Linked DNA regions of Homo sapiens: regions 1, 3 and 4 are each linked to region 2. The links are contacts of gene promoters, found by promoter capture Hi-C in blood cells and fetal thymus (Javierre and others, 2016). All regions are on one chromosome and are shown on one strand. The core of a region is centred on a gene start or on the middle of the fragment in contact, and the rest is flanking DNA. Distances in the headings are between cores, read along the strand shown.

Region 1 (3,187 bases), core at 244-2,743, 170 kb after region 2:
AGTAGCTGGGATTACAGGTGCCCACCATCATACCTGGCTAATTTTTATATTTTTAGTAGAGACAGGGTTTCACCATGTTGGCCAGGCTGGTCTCGAACTCCTGACCTCAGGTGATCCACCCACCTTGGCCTCCCAAAGTGCTGGGATTACAGGCATGAGCCACTGTGCCAGGCCTGTAGTTCTCAACTGATGCTCTTTTATCTTATTTTATTGCATTTCCGACTTCTATTATAGAAAAAACTCAAGCTTTCACAAAATTAGAGAGTTCATTATAATTAATTCTCATGTAGCCATCACCTAGCCAGGTGTGGTGGCAACACACCTGTAACTCCAGCTACTTGGAGGCTGAGGTGGGAGGATCACTTGAGCACAAGGTCTCTAAAAAAAAAAGGAAAAAACAGGCTGGGCACAGTGGCTCATGCCTGTAATCCCAGCACTTTGGGAAGCTGAGGCGGGTGGATCACCTGAGGTCAGGAGTTCAAGACCAGCCTGGCCAACATGGTGAAACCCCGTCCCTATCACCTAGCCATCACCTAGGAACAAATATCAATATTTTGCCTGTTTCATCTATACTACCCTCCCCCAAACACATTTTCCCCTTCTGAATATCCTAAAGCAAATCCTGGACATACTTTCCTTTTACCTGTAAATACTTTAATAGGCATCTCCAACAGATAAAGAGGCTTTAGTTGTTTTTTGCCCTTTTGTTTCTGCTGAACATAAGCACAAGACCAGTCATAGTCAACAGATTTAATGGCAATATCAATCAATACCCAGTCTATGTTCAGTTTTCCCTGATAGTCTCGGAATGCTTTTTACAGTTGGTCAATTCAGGATCCAAACCAAGTCCATGCTTTGCATTTGGTTGTTTGGTTTCCTGTCTGTTTTACTAGAAAACTGTCCCCTTTTTCATACCATATGTGTGAGAGAAACTGGGCCACGTGTCCTGCAGAATCCCCCATAGTTTGGAGTTGGGCAATTGCAGCCAAATGGTGTTGTCTAACTTGTTCTTCTGTCCCCTGTATTTCCTCATAAACCAGTAGTCTGGGTCGAGGTATGGTTGGATCAGGCTCAGTTGTGGCAAGAACATTTCCTACAGTGCCGCTCTGTGTATCTTACCGTAGCACATGAGGAAGGACATGAGGTCTTCAGTCAGTTTACAACACTTCTTTTAAAGGTTGCAGGATGAGCAGAGCTGCAGTGTCTTGGGGTGAGAGGTAGAACATGCGGGAGCTCAGACATTTTGGAACCAGGAACTACCAGCCAGGAAGGCCCAGCCTGGGGTCCCCAGTCTGAGGGAGAAGCTGGCACCAAGCTCTTGCTCTTCACCATTCTTCCCAGGGAACCCACAGACTACAGGTACCTGCTTGCTCTTCTTAAACAATTCGTAGACATCTCAAGGAGAAGATTAGAACTTGACTCTATGGGGTTTCTCCCCTCTCAGACGGGAACTCTTTGAAGAGAGCTGTGTCTCCCCTTCAAATTGGGGCTTCCTGAGGGCTGGGCTATGTCTCCCCTCAGACCAGGGCTCCCTGAGGATGGGGCTGTGTCCCCCTCAGACCGGGGCTCCCTGAGGATGGGGCTGTGTTTCCCTCAAACTAGGGTCCCCTGAAGACAGGGCTGCATCTCCCCTCAGACTGGGGCTCCCTGAGGACAGGGCTGCATTCCCCCCTCAGACTGGGGCTGCCTGAGGACGGGGCTGTGTCTCCTCCTCATGTCACCCCTCACCGTCTAGTACCTCACACTCAGTGACTTATTTTCTTACTTCACTGTGAGCTGCTATAACAGAATACCTGAGTCTGGATAATTGATAAAGAGTAGAGATTTATTTCTTACTGTTCTGGAGGCTGGGAAGTCCAAGGTGGAGGGGCCCGCATCTGCTGAGGGGCCCGATTTCATCCTTTTCCTCAGGAACCCACTCCCATGATAATGGCATTAATCTACTCATGAGGGCAGAGCGCTTGTAATCCAGTCACCTCTCAAAGGTCCCATCTCTCACCACTGTCATGCTGGGCCTCACGTTTCCAACACAGGAACTTTGGGGGACACATTCAAACCACAGCACTACACAAAAAAGCAATCATCAAAGCATACTAAGCACATAGTGTGTACCAAATGCTCCACGTGTATGATCCCATTTAATTTCCACCATCCCCTGTCGAGTGTTTAAAATGTCATTTCTTAGATGAGAAAACTCAGGCTCAGAGAGGTTAGGCCAGTTCTCAAGGTCTCACAGGTGTCCCTCAGCCAGCGTTCTGCTTGGCATGACCCACTGTCAGGTATACCCCTGCTCATTGCCCTATGGCTGGCTTTACTAATTTGATTCACTTACTAAATTATGTTGGTTTTTCTGGAAAAACTCAGACGTGATCATTTTCCCAGGCTCTTTGTGCCTTGCTTATGGGAGAGTGGCCTAGAACATAGTTCTTATCTTAATCAAGACCCTTTCAAACCCTAGTGACTCCTCCTCCACCGCCCCCGGCCCCTTCCGCGCAGAGTGAAATTCGTAGCCTGGGAAACACGCTGTGATATAAATAGCCGGCTCACCACTAAGGCGCTCTCCTCTGCCTGGCTTTGTCTTAAGAGGGTGAGAGGAGCCTTAATCTGTGGTTGGAATGAGGGCAAGCACTGAGTAAACAAGATGATGTTTGGAGTGGGGGAGGGATAGCTCCAGAAGTGAGAGACCCCAGGAGTTCCCAGGCTGGTGACCCAGGCAGGTCCCAACGTTCACCAAGCTTGGCCTTTTCCCCCAGGCTGACCTGGATGTTGCCCCTGGGAATACACTGGGAAGTTCCCAGTATGAGGGAGACGCAGCCCTGTCTTTAGGAAGCCCCAGTTTGAGGGGAGACAGCCCCATCTTCAGGGGGCCCCAGTCTGAGGGGAGACACAGCCCCGTCCTCAGGGAACCCCAGTCTGATGGGGAGACACAGCCCCGTCTTCAGGGAGCCCCAGTCTGAGGGGGAGACACAGCCCTGACTCAGGGAGCCCCAGTGTGAGGGGAGACAGCCTGGTGGAGACCATTAGGGTGACTTGTCTGGGGGCTCAGGGAGGCGAGGTGGGGAGACGGGGAATGTCCGCAAGCCCAGCCTGCAGACTGAGGGTGGCTCAGAGCCTCTGCTGGCCTCAGCCCACACAGTTTTAGGCCTGACCCTCACATCACAGACACCTTAGTGTGCATGAGGCGGGT
Region 2 (3,001 bases), core at 51-2,550:
ATAAGCCTTCCTCTTTTTCAGGAGATTTTCTGGAACCAAAGGGATTTTTCTTTGCCTGATGCAGAAAATTGAGATCAGAGATAACATTTAGAAAAGAACACTTGGCCGGGCTCGGTGGCTCAAGCCTGTAATCCCAGCACTCTGGGAGGCCGAGGTGGGTGGATTACCTGAGGTCAGGAGTTCGAGACCAGCCTGACCAACATGGTGAAACCCCCGTTTCTACTAAAAATAAAAAATCAGCTGGGCGTGGTGGCGCACGCCTGTAATCCCAGCTACTCGGGAGACTGAGGCAGGAGAATCGCTTGAACCCGGGAGGCGGAGGTTGCACCGAGCCGAGATCCCGACACTGCGCTCCAGCCTGGGGGACAGAGCAAGACTCCGTCTCAAAACAAAAACAACAACAAAAAAGAAAACGAACATTCAATGGATTTCCAAACCAATTCAATATCCTGGGCTTTAGGGAACATTACTGTTTTCAAGTATCTGAAGAAAGATTCCCCTGAAACCTGCGGTTTCTGACTCCAGGCCTCATAAATCCATCCCTAATAGTCACTCATCCCCAAAGCCTCGGAAAATAATGAATCCTTTAGCCTCTGGGTTCGTATAAGTTAACAGGGTTTTCACGGCCACAGTTCTTCATAGGCACTAGCAGCGACGAATCTATGGGGTTGGGGCGGGGGCAGGCCTATCTGCAGAGTTAACACTTGTCGGGCTGGGTGAATTCAACTGTGGCACTCCAGCCCGCTGCCTGAAGTCAATCCTCGCCTCTCCAGATAACCCGAACTTGACCGCGGTCCCCTCCCTCCTCCGCCACAGCGCTACTCCTCCTCACCCCCACCCTTTGTAAACTGTGGCCTTTTCTATTCCTAGAGCCCACAGGAATCCGCCACCAAGGCATAAACACCGTGGATGGCACCGGATACTCAAGACCCCACTCCAGATATTCAAAGCCCCAAACACTCACTCTTGCTCCGCCATCTTTCTAGTGGTGCAGCTACTGATCATGCGCAACCCCACCACATGGGGAAGACAGCACACGCTCTGTTTACTTGACCATAGAGACGTCTGTTCTAGCTCACGCTGGAGGACCAGTCAGCGTTCACTTAGCCGCAGTGAGCCCTTGAGGTCCCGCTAACCCCGATTCCTGCCAAAAGTTGCACCGCTTCTTAGGGTTTTTAGAGCCTGTGTTATTTTCAAAACCCAGCCCTTTTCTTGTAAGTTACAGTTTCATCACAAGCGGCCTGGCTGTGGACAGCAAAGTGCTTCCCACAATGCACCTATGGCGTCCGCTCCTAGCTACGGCGCCGCACTTCCGGCGCGGCTGTGCTGCGTCTCTGGGGAGGAAGACAGGCAAACTCCGCGAAACATTTTCGCTCTGTGGAAAAACTTGGAGGCTATGGCTTTGGCTCTCACGTGTAGGTGGAAGTGTTTGTTGAGGACTTAGAGTGGTAAAGCAGGTAGCTGCAATTCCGTCTGCTTGGCCCCGTCGATGCGTCCTTGAACACGTTATTTAACCCCTCTATACTGCGGCTTCATTACCCATAAAATGGGTGTACAGTAATAATAGGTCTACCTAATGGCGTTACGAGGATTACAGGAGATTAGATAAAGCGTTTAGCAGTGTCTGTCAGCACTATGTTTGTTACTATTACTGCTGGACCGAAAACTACAACATGCTTCCTTCCCGTCTAAAACCGTTACACAGGCCGGGCGCGGTGGCTCACGCCTGTAATCCCAGCACTTTGGGAGGGAGGCCGAGACGGGAGGATCACCTGAGGTCAGGAGTTCGAGATCAGCCTGGCCAACACGGCGAAACCCCGTCTTGGGCGGAGGTTACAGTGAGCCGAGATCGCGCCACTGCCCACCAGCCTGGGCGACAGAGCAAGACTCCGTCTCAAAAAAACAAAAAGAAAAGAAAAGAAAAAAAAAGAATAAAAATAAAACCCTTATGCAGCTCTCATCGCCCGGAATTTGCGTTCTTCCCTCCCAGTCTATATAGAATCCTGAAAAACAGTAGGTCGGGCCGGTGGCTTTCACCTGTAATCCCAGCACTTTGGGAGGCCAAGGCAGGTGGATCACTTGAGGTCAGGAGTTGGAGACCAGCATGGCTAAGATGGTGAAACCCCGTCTCTACTAAAAATACAAAAAATTAGCTGGGCGTGGTGGCTCGCGCCTGAAGTCCCAGAAGGCGGAGGCTGCGTGAGCCGAGTTTGTGCCACTTGCACTCCAGCCTGGGCGACAGAGCGAGACAGTCTCAAAAAAAACAAGAAATAAATTTTTTTTAAAATTAAAAATCCTGAAAAACAACACAAGTCTTATCATCTCTGGAAACCTCCAGAGCAGCGCTTCTCAAGCATTAATAGTGAATAGGAGTCACCTGAAGATTTTACTAAAATACAGATTTTTATTCAGGAGGCCGGGTGGGGAGCTGATATTCTGCTTTTTTTTTTTTTTTTTTTTTGAGATGGCGTCTCGCTCTGTCGCCCAGGCTGGAGTGCAGTGGCGCGATCTTGGCTCACTGCAAGCTCCGCCTCCCGGGTTCACGCCATTCTCCTGCCTCAGCCTCCCGAGTAGCTGGGACTACAGGCGCCCGCCACCACGCCTGGCTAATTTTTTGAATTTTTAGTAGAGATTTCACCTTGTTAGCCAGGATGGTCTCGATCTCCTGACCTCGTGATCCGCCCGCCTCGGCCTCCCAAAGTGCTGGGATTACAGGCGTGAGCCACCGCACCTGGCCAATATTCTGCATTTTTAACAGGCTTCAGAGTGACGCTGGTGCTACTGGTCTATGGGCTGACTAGTAAGACTCTAGAGTAGTGTCTGATTTCCCTCAGGACATTATTATATTTTTAATATTTCTTCCACATGATACTAGGGGGGGCAGGAACCATGACTGCTTACTCATCACTGATCCTAAGGATCTAGCACCAATTTCTCGATTTTGGCACTATTGATACTGATACTGGTGGCAGCTAAAGGCCTCGTGTTGCCATGTAACTAG
Region 3 (2,911 bases), core at 116-2,615, 220 kb after region 2:
AATACAAATGGGGCTGGGTGAAAAGGACACAGAAGCTGACTAAATAAACTCCCACTGACCAAAATGGGCATAATTTGAGCATCAAAAGGAATACCCATTATAAGTGACTATAAAACACTGAATAAAAATCCATGAATAATATTTAAAAAAACTCTAAACAAAAAACATTCAAAATTGCCACAATTGCAGGTAACTATCAGACCAATGGCTGGTTCTGAAAATTAGTAAATGAGAAGCTTTTCTTTGAGACATGAAATATTATGTCTACAACAAATGGTTCAAGAAAGTATGTAAATATAAAAGCAAATATAGCAAACTACTGAATCTAGGGAGCAGGTATATGAATGTTTACTGGACAATTCTTTCAACTTGTCTATATGTATGAAATTTTTAAAATAAAAAGCTAGAAAAACTCCCTGGCCTTCTTTTAAAAAGTCACATTTCTTTATATGAAATGACAATCTAATCCCCTATAATTTTTTTTTATTTTCAATACTGTAGAATCTTACGTCAACCACAGCTGACTGTAACTTTGAACTTAGCCCTAGATATTTTTATAAAAATGTATCAGGGTTTAATACAGTACCTTTACTACACAGATGAGTACATATAGCCTCAAATGTTTGGATTAAATATTACCCTTTTAGAATCTATATGATCAAATAAAAGAGGTTATTAAGTGATTTCTTAAAATCATTTATATCTTGAGTTAGTTTAGTAAAAAGATATATACATACTTGATATCTTCTGAGTGAAGGTAAATGTTACTACATGCTCTTCCGTGACATTCTCTAAATGTTGTTTTTCTTCTTGTAGTGCCATGCCAATTAAATGTAACACCTTGAATAAATGTTTTGTAACTTTTAGTAAAAATTTAAAAAATCAAGTACATATTTTAATAAGAAATAGGAAAAAAGAATTATTGAAAAAGATAAATCAAACTATGAAATACTAAATGCAATTAAAAACAATTTGAAGTACTAATTTTTTTTTCTTTTTTTTTTTTTTGAGATGGAGTTTTGCCCTGTCACCCAGGCTCACTGCAACCTCTGCCTCCCAGGTTCAAGTGATTCTCCTGCCTCAGCCTCCCGAGTAGCTGGGACTACAGGCGCGTGCCACCACACCCGGCTAATTTTTGTACTTTTAGTAGAGATGGGGTTTCACCATGTTGGCCAGGCTGGTCTTGAACTCCTGACCTCAAGTGATCCGCCCACCTTGGCCTCCCAAAGTGCTGGGATTAAAGGCGTGAGCCACCATGCCCGGCCTTGAAGTACTAATTTTTATTAAATGAAAAGACTGAGGTTTATTTTCTAACAAACAATTATTGTCAAGAAAAACAAAATTTTCTACTTCAATGAGGAAGAAATTTCAATTGCAAATCCTCAGGGTAAGCTAAAATTACACCAGCTGTGACCAGCAATTCACATAATATGTAAGTTTTATTCTATACCTATACTACAGACTTAAAAAAACCTTCCAAGAATTAGTGGTCAAGTAATTATAAAGCTAAACGTATCCCCCATGTAATTATCCAGTCTATGACACTACCTAATTTCTCTAAGGACTAAATCTTCATCATCTGAGAAAGACAAACTTTTATCTCTAATGCCTTATCATTTATAAACTTTATAGTTCTTCAGTGTATCTCACAAAATATTCCTGACCAGACTTCTAGAGACTGTATCAACCTATTTGTTTTTTTACTGCTCTTATCCCATGCCCAAGTTTTTTTGTTTTTTGAGACGGAGTCTCCCTCTGTTGCCCAGGCTAGAGTGCAGTGGCACAATATTGGCTCACTGCAACCTCTGCCTCCCAGTTTCCAGTGATTCTCCTGAGCCCTCCTGAGTAGCTGGGATTATAAGCATGTGCCATGACGATTGGCTAATTTTTTTATTTTTAGTAGAGATGGGGTTTTACCATGTTGTACAGGCTGGTCTTGAACTCCCGACCCCAAGTGATCTACCCGCCTTGGCCTCCCAAAGTGTTAGGATTACAGGGGTGAGCCACTGTGCCGGGCCCACACCCCAGATTTTGAAGGAGATATGTGTGTGATGTCTCTGTATCTTTCCCTTCACATGGGATGACTGTGGTTGTCAGAGACTTGGAAGAACTAGGTGACATAAAGCAAGTGTACATGTAAGGTAAATATTGTTCACACCTCTTCTCTCCATTATTTCCCACAAATCTTTTGTTCATGTAATGCTGACAGTACACGACAGCTAGTACAGCTGTACTAGTAGTGAGCTAGTACACCACAGCTCCATGCTTTTACACTTTAAATATGCTTATAGATAAATAGGAGGGCATTATAAGAATACACACATCTTAGCCAGTGAGACAAAAAGAAAGAATGATAGCTACTCAGCCTCCCGAGGAGGGCTCCAAAATTTGAATCTGAATCCTGGTTTTACTGCTTTCAAGCTATTAATATATACCCTAAGGGAACGCCTCTGAGCCCAAGTCATCATCTTTAGCCTTGGAAAAACAAAGCTTCCCTCTAGAGTTCTGAGGATTACAAATACTGTATGCAGAGTGCTTAGCATGGCCAGGCACGGTGGCTCACGCCTTGTAATCCTAGCACTTTGGGAGGCCAAGGTGAGTGGATCACCTGACGCTGGGAGTTCGAGACTAGCCTGGCCAACGTGGTGAAACCCTGTCTCTACTAAAAATACAAAAAATTAGCTGGGCTTCGTGACAGGCACCTGTACTCCCAACTACTTGGGAGGCTGAGGCAGGAGAATTGCTTGAACCCGGGAGGCAGAAGTTGCAGTGAGCCAAGATCACACCATTGTACTCCAGCCTGGGTGACAAGAGCAAAACTGTCTCAAAAAAAAAAAAAAAAAAAAAAAAAAAAGGGCTTAGCATGGAATAAGGCATAAAGTAGGCATTCTATTTAATGAATAATTGTTAT
Region 4 (2,994 bases), core at 329-2,828, 240 kb after region 2:
TCTTGCCTTTTTTTTTTTTAAGGGCACGTGCAGGGCATGCCACGCTGCGCCTGCGTGCTACTTCCACACGCATGCCTCACTTTCTTGCCTTCTGTCCAATACTTTTCCACAACACCATGCCATCAATTGCCTGTGTTGAGGATTGACAGTTCAGTTGCTCAAAACACTTATAAAAACAAAACTGGGCCTGAACAAGTTATAGAAATAAGAGAGATTTCTTCTTACGATCATGATTTCATTCTAGGTAATGGTCTATTGTACCATTTGATATTCATATGTCTAGGAATAACAACTTTATAAGCCTCAGAGTAAGTAATTATCTTAAATTACCATGACTTCAATAATATACCCATGGCAAGGGTCTATCAGTGGGATAATGTGATAGGTCTCAGAACAATGAAAAAAAATGCCTTCAGAATGAAAGAGGAATCATTACTACTGACCCCATGTACATTAAAAGGATAATGAAGGAATATTAACAACTCTAGGCCCACAAATCTGATAACTTAGATGAAATGGATCAATTCCCTGAAAGACACAGACTACCAAAACTCACACAAGGAGAAAAAGATAACCTAAACAGGCCCGTATCTATTAAAGAAATTGAGTCAATTATTAATAACCTTCCAAAACCTAAAGCATCAGATGAGATGACTTCACTGGTGAATTCTGTCAAACATTTAAGGAAGAAATGAAACAAACTCTCTACAATCTCCTCCAGAAAAAAACAAAACAAAACAAAAAACATACCCTCACATCACATTAAGCTACTGAGCCACAAACTTAACATAAACTACATATTTTACAATGAGTAAAAATACCTTCAAAATTTCTTTCTGTTCTCTGAGTTAAAACGGAACTAAAGAAAACAACAGTGTGCGAGCAAGAAAAGAATACCTAGAATCAAGAAATATGAAAGCTGTACTGAAATGAGTCTGCAGAGATGGATAAGTGCATATTCAAAGTCTTTGGCCACATAAGATGGCAGCTTCAGACATTCTACCAATTAATTACAAGTGGCTTGTAAATCAACTACTTGAAATTAAAAGATTATCACCCCATTATGTCCTTGTTCTTGACCTGTTGCGTAAAAAGCTATCAATAAATATATGAAACAGCTCAGAGGGAGAGGAAAAAAAGGAGAATAGAAAACCTAGGGTGGCTTCAAATGATTAGCAATTGCTTAAGTGACAGATTAATTTGAATGGTAACAACATAGACTTTGAAGCTGGATTCGATGAAATGATAAAACGTGGTATCTGTAGTTGTCTAAAGAAGCACTATGGTATAACGGCTATAAACATGGCCTCTGGTGCCAAACTTCCTCATAATGCCAACTGATTCTTTCTTGTTGTGTGACTTACTAAGCAAGTCACTCTCTATGCCTCTGTCTTCCCATCTATGAAGCAAGCTTAATAATAATACCTACTTCACAGGACGATGTGATGATTGGATAAGTTAATGATGTAGAAATCACAGAATAACATCTGGCACAAAGTAAGTATTCACAGATATTAACCACAAACAACAATTTAAAAGATAATTTTAGGGTTTTATTTTAGGGGAAATGCTTTACCTGCAAGTAAGCGAGAAACTGGGAGGTGAATGCTAACTTTTTCTTGGGAAACACAGTATCTGATAGTTTCCACTGAATGTCCACAAATGCTTAGTGTGATTGGCTGTTCACCATCAGTATAACCACCATGACACTGCATCAGTACAGCGAGACATTTCTTGTAAGCTTCGATTAACACTTTTTCCTAAAAAAGAGGGTTTTTCTGTAAGTTACTCAAAAGGTTGAGTTTTTACAACATTGAATAAGCACCTTAAATTCAGTGAGTAAGTACCTCAAATAACAATATAGGCAAAACCAAACTCAATCCTCCCTCCCAAATTTGGTCCCTCTTCCAGTGTCCCTCATCTCAGTGAATGATACATTTACTCATATAGTGCAGAAATCTAGAAGTTATTCCAATACCCTCCTTTCCCCCATTCCCCATTGTCCAATCTATTACCAAGCTGGCAACTTCATCTTCTAAGTTTCTCTCAAAACTTGCTACTTTTCTCTATCTCTAGTAACTCCAAGGCATTGCCAAGCGTCTCTCTATTAAATTCCTGCTTTGACTCTTGCCCCCTTCATCCATTCTCCATACAGAGCAATTTTAAAAAACATGTAAATTGAATCATGTCACTGTATGGAAAATGGATAAAGGGGGCAAGAGTTGAAGCAGGGAATTTAATAGAGAGATGGTAATCTCTAAAGGCTTCCCACTTCAATTCAAATAAAATGCAGGCTGAGTGTGGTGGCTCACGCTGGTAATTCCAAGACTTTGGGAGGCCGAGGCAAGCAGATCGCTTGAGCCCAGGAATTCAAGACCAGCCTGGGTAACACGGCGAAGCCCTGTCTCTACAAAAAATAGAAAAATTAGCCAGGTGTGGTGGTGTGTGCCTGTTGTCCCAGCTACTTGGGAGGCTGAGGTGGGAGGATCACCTAAGCCCAGGGAGGTTGAGGCTGCAGTGAGCCGGGATTGCACCACTGCACTCTGGCCTGGGCAACAGAGTAAGCTGTGTCTCAAAAAAAAAAAAAACAAAAAAAAAAACAACCATGGCCAAGGCCCCGAAAAATCACTCCTGTGCCCAAATCTCTGTTCTCTACTTCTGTGCTCCAACCACAGACCTTTCTATAGCTCCTAGGACTACCCTAGTCCCTGTCATCACAGACTATAATGCAGCTGTCTTCTCAGTCAGGAATATCATTTACTCATTGTTCCATTAACTTTTACAGATTGTTCAGACCTTACAGAAACCTCCCTAACCTCATAATGTATACAGGCTCTCATCTAGACTTTATCGCCAAAGGAAGGCCAAAATAATTTTAAGACACAGGACAAATGTACCAATAATAAAACTTTATTTTTGAATAAATTTAGAAACTACCATTTTTATATCCTCAAAGTCTAGAAGGGATTATGGAAAAAAAACAAAGATAGTTAC

Evidence for each region. The method cuts DNA at HindIII sites, captures the fragments that hold promoters and counts their contacts. A CHiCAGO score of 5 or more calls a contact.
Region 1: a contact is called between a fragment that was not itself captured here and the fragment with the promoter of RPL7L1 in region 2, in 4 of 17 cell types (naive CD4 T cells, total CD8 T cells, naive CD8 T cells and 1 more). The highest score is 6.2, in naive CD4 T cells.
Region 3: a fragment that was not itself captured here is called in contact with the fragment with the promoter of RPL7L1 in region 2 in 16 of 17 cell types (naive CD4 T cells, megakaryocytes, total CD8 T cells and 13 more); the score reaches 30.2 in naive CD4 T cells.
Region 4: a fragment that was not itself captured here is called in contact with the fragment with the promoter of RPL7L1 in region 2 in 11 of 17 cell types (M2 macrophages, M1 macrophages, total CD8 T cells and 8 more); the score reaches 10.1 in M2 macrophages.

Annotation. Positions count from the first base shown.
Region 1 is chr6:42,709,930-42,713,116 of GRCh38, reverse strand. The region is part of intron 1 of PRPH2 (peripherin 2); the gene reads left to right. Among named protein-coding and RNA genes, the nearest start is that of PRPH2, 11 kb to the left of the region's middle. RefSeq lists an enhancer at 2,337-2,922. The HindIII fragment of the contact is 2,489 bases long and covers 249-2,737 here.
Region 2 is chr6:42,877,915-42,880,915 of GRCh38, reverse strand. RPL7L1 (ribosomal protein L7 like 1) reads right to left here and starts at 1,300. Exons shown (of 6, transcript NM_001366481.3): 1 at 965-1,300; 2 at 1-55. The coding sequence starts at 1,005. RefSeq lists enhancers at 1,039-1,098, 374-1,330, 1,119-1,588, 1,331-2,288. The HindIII fragment of the contact is 10,267 bases long and covers 1-3,001 here.
Region 3 is chr6:42,653,550-42,656,460 of GRCh38, reverse strand. It overlaps UBR2 (ubiquitin protein ligase E3 component n-recognin 2), which reads right to left. Exons shown (of 47, transcript NM_001363705.2): 26 at 738-840. Among named protein-coding and RNA genes, the nearest start is that of PRPH2, 68 kb to the left of the region's middle. The HindIII fragment of the contact is 2,254 bases long and covers 239-2,492 here.
Region 4 is chr6:42,635,777-42,638,770 of GRCh38, reverse strand. It overlaps UBR2 (ubiquitin protein ligase E3 component n-recognin 2), which reads right to left. Exons shown (of 47, transcript NM_001363705.2): 15 at 1,577-1,760. Among named protein-coding and RNA genes, the nearest start is that of UBR2, 73 kb to the right of the region's middle. The HindIII fragment of the contact is 330 bases long and covers 1,414-1,743 here.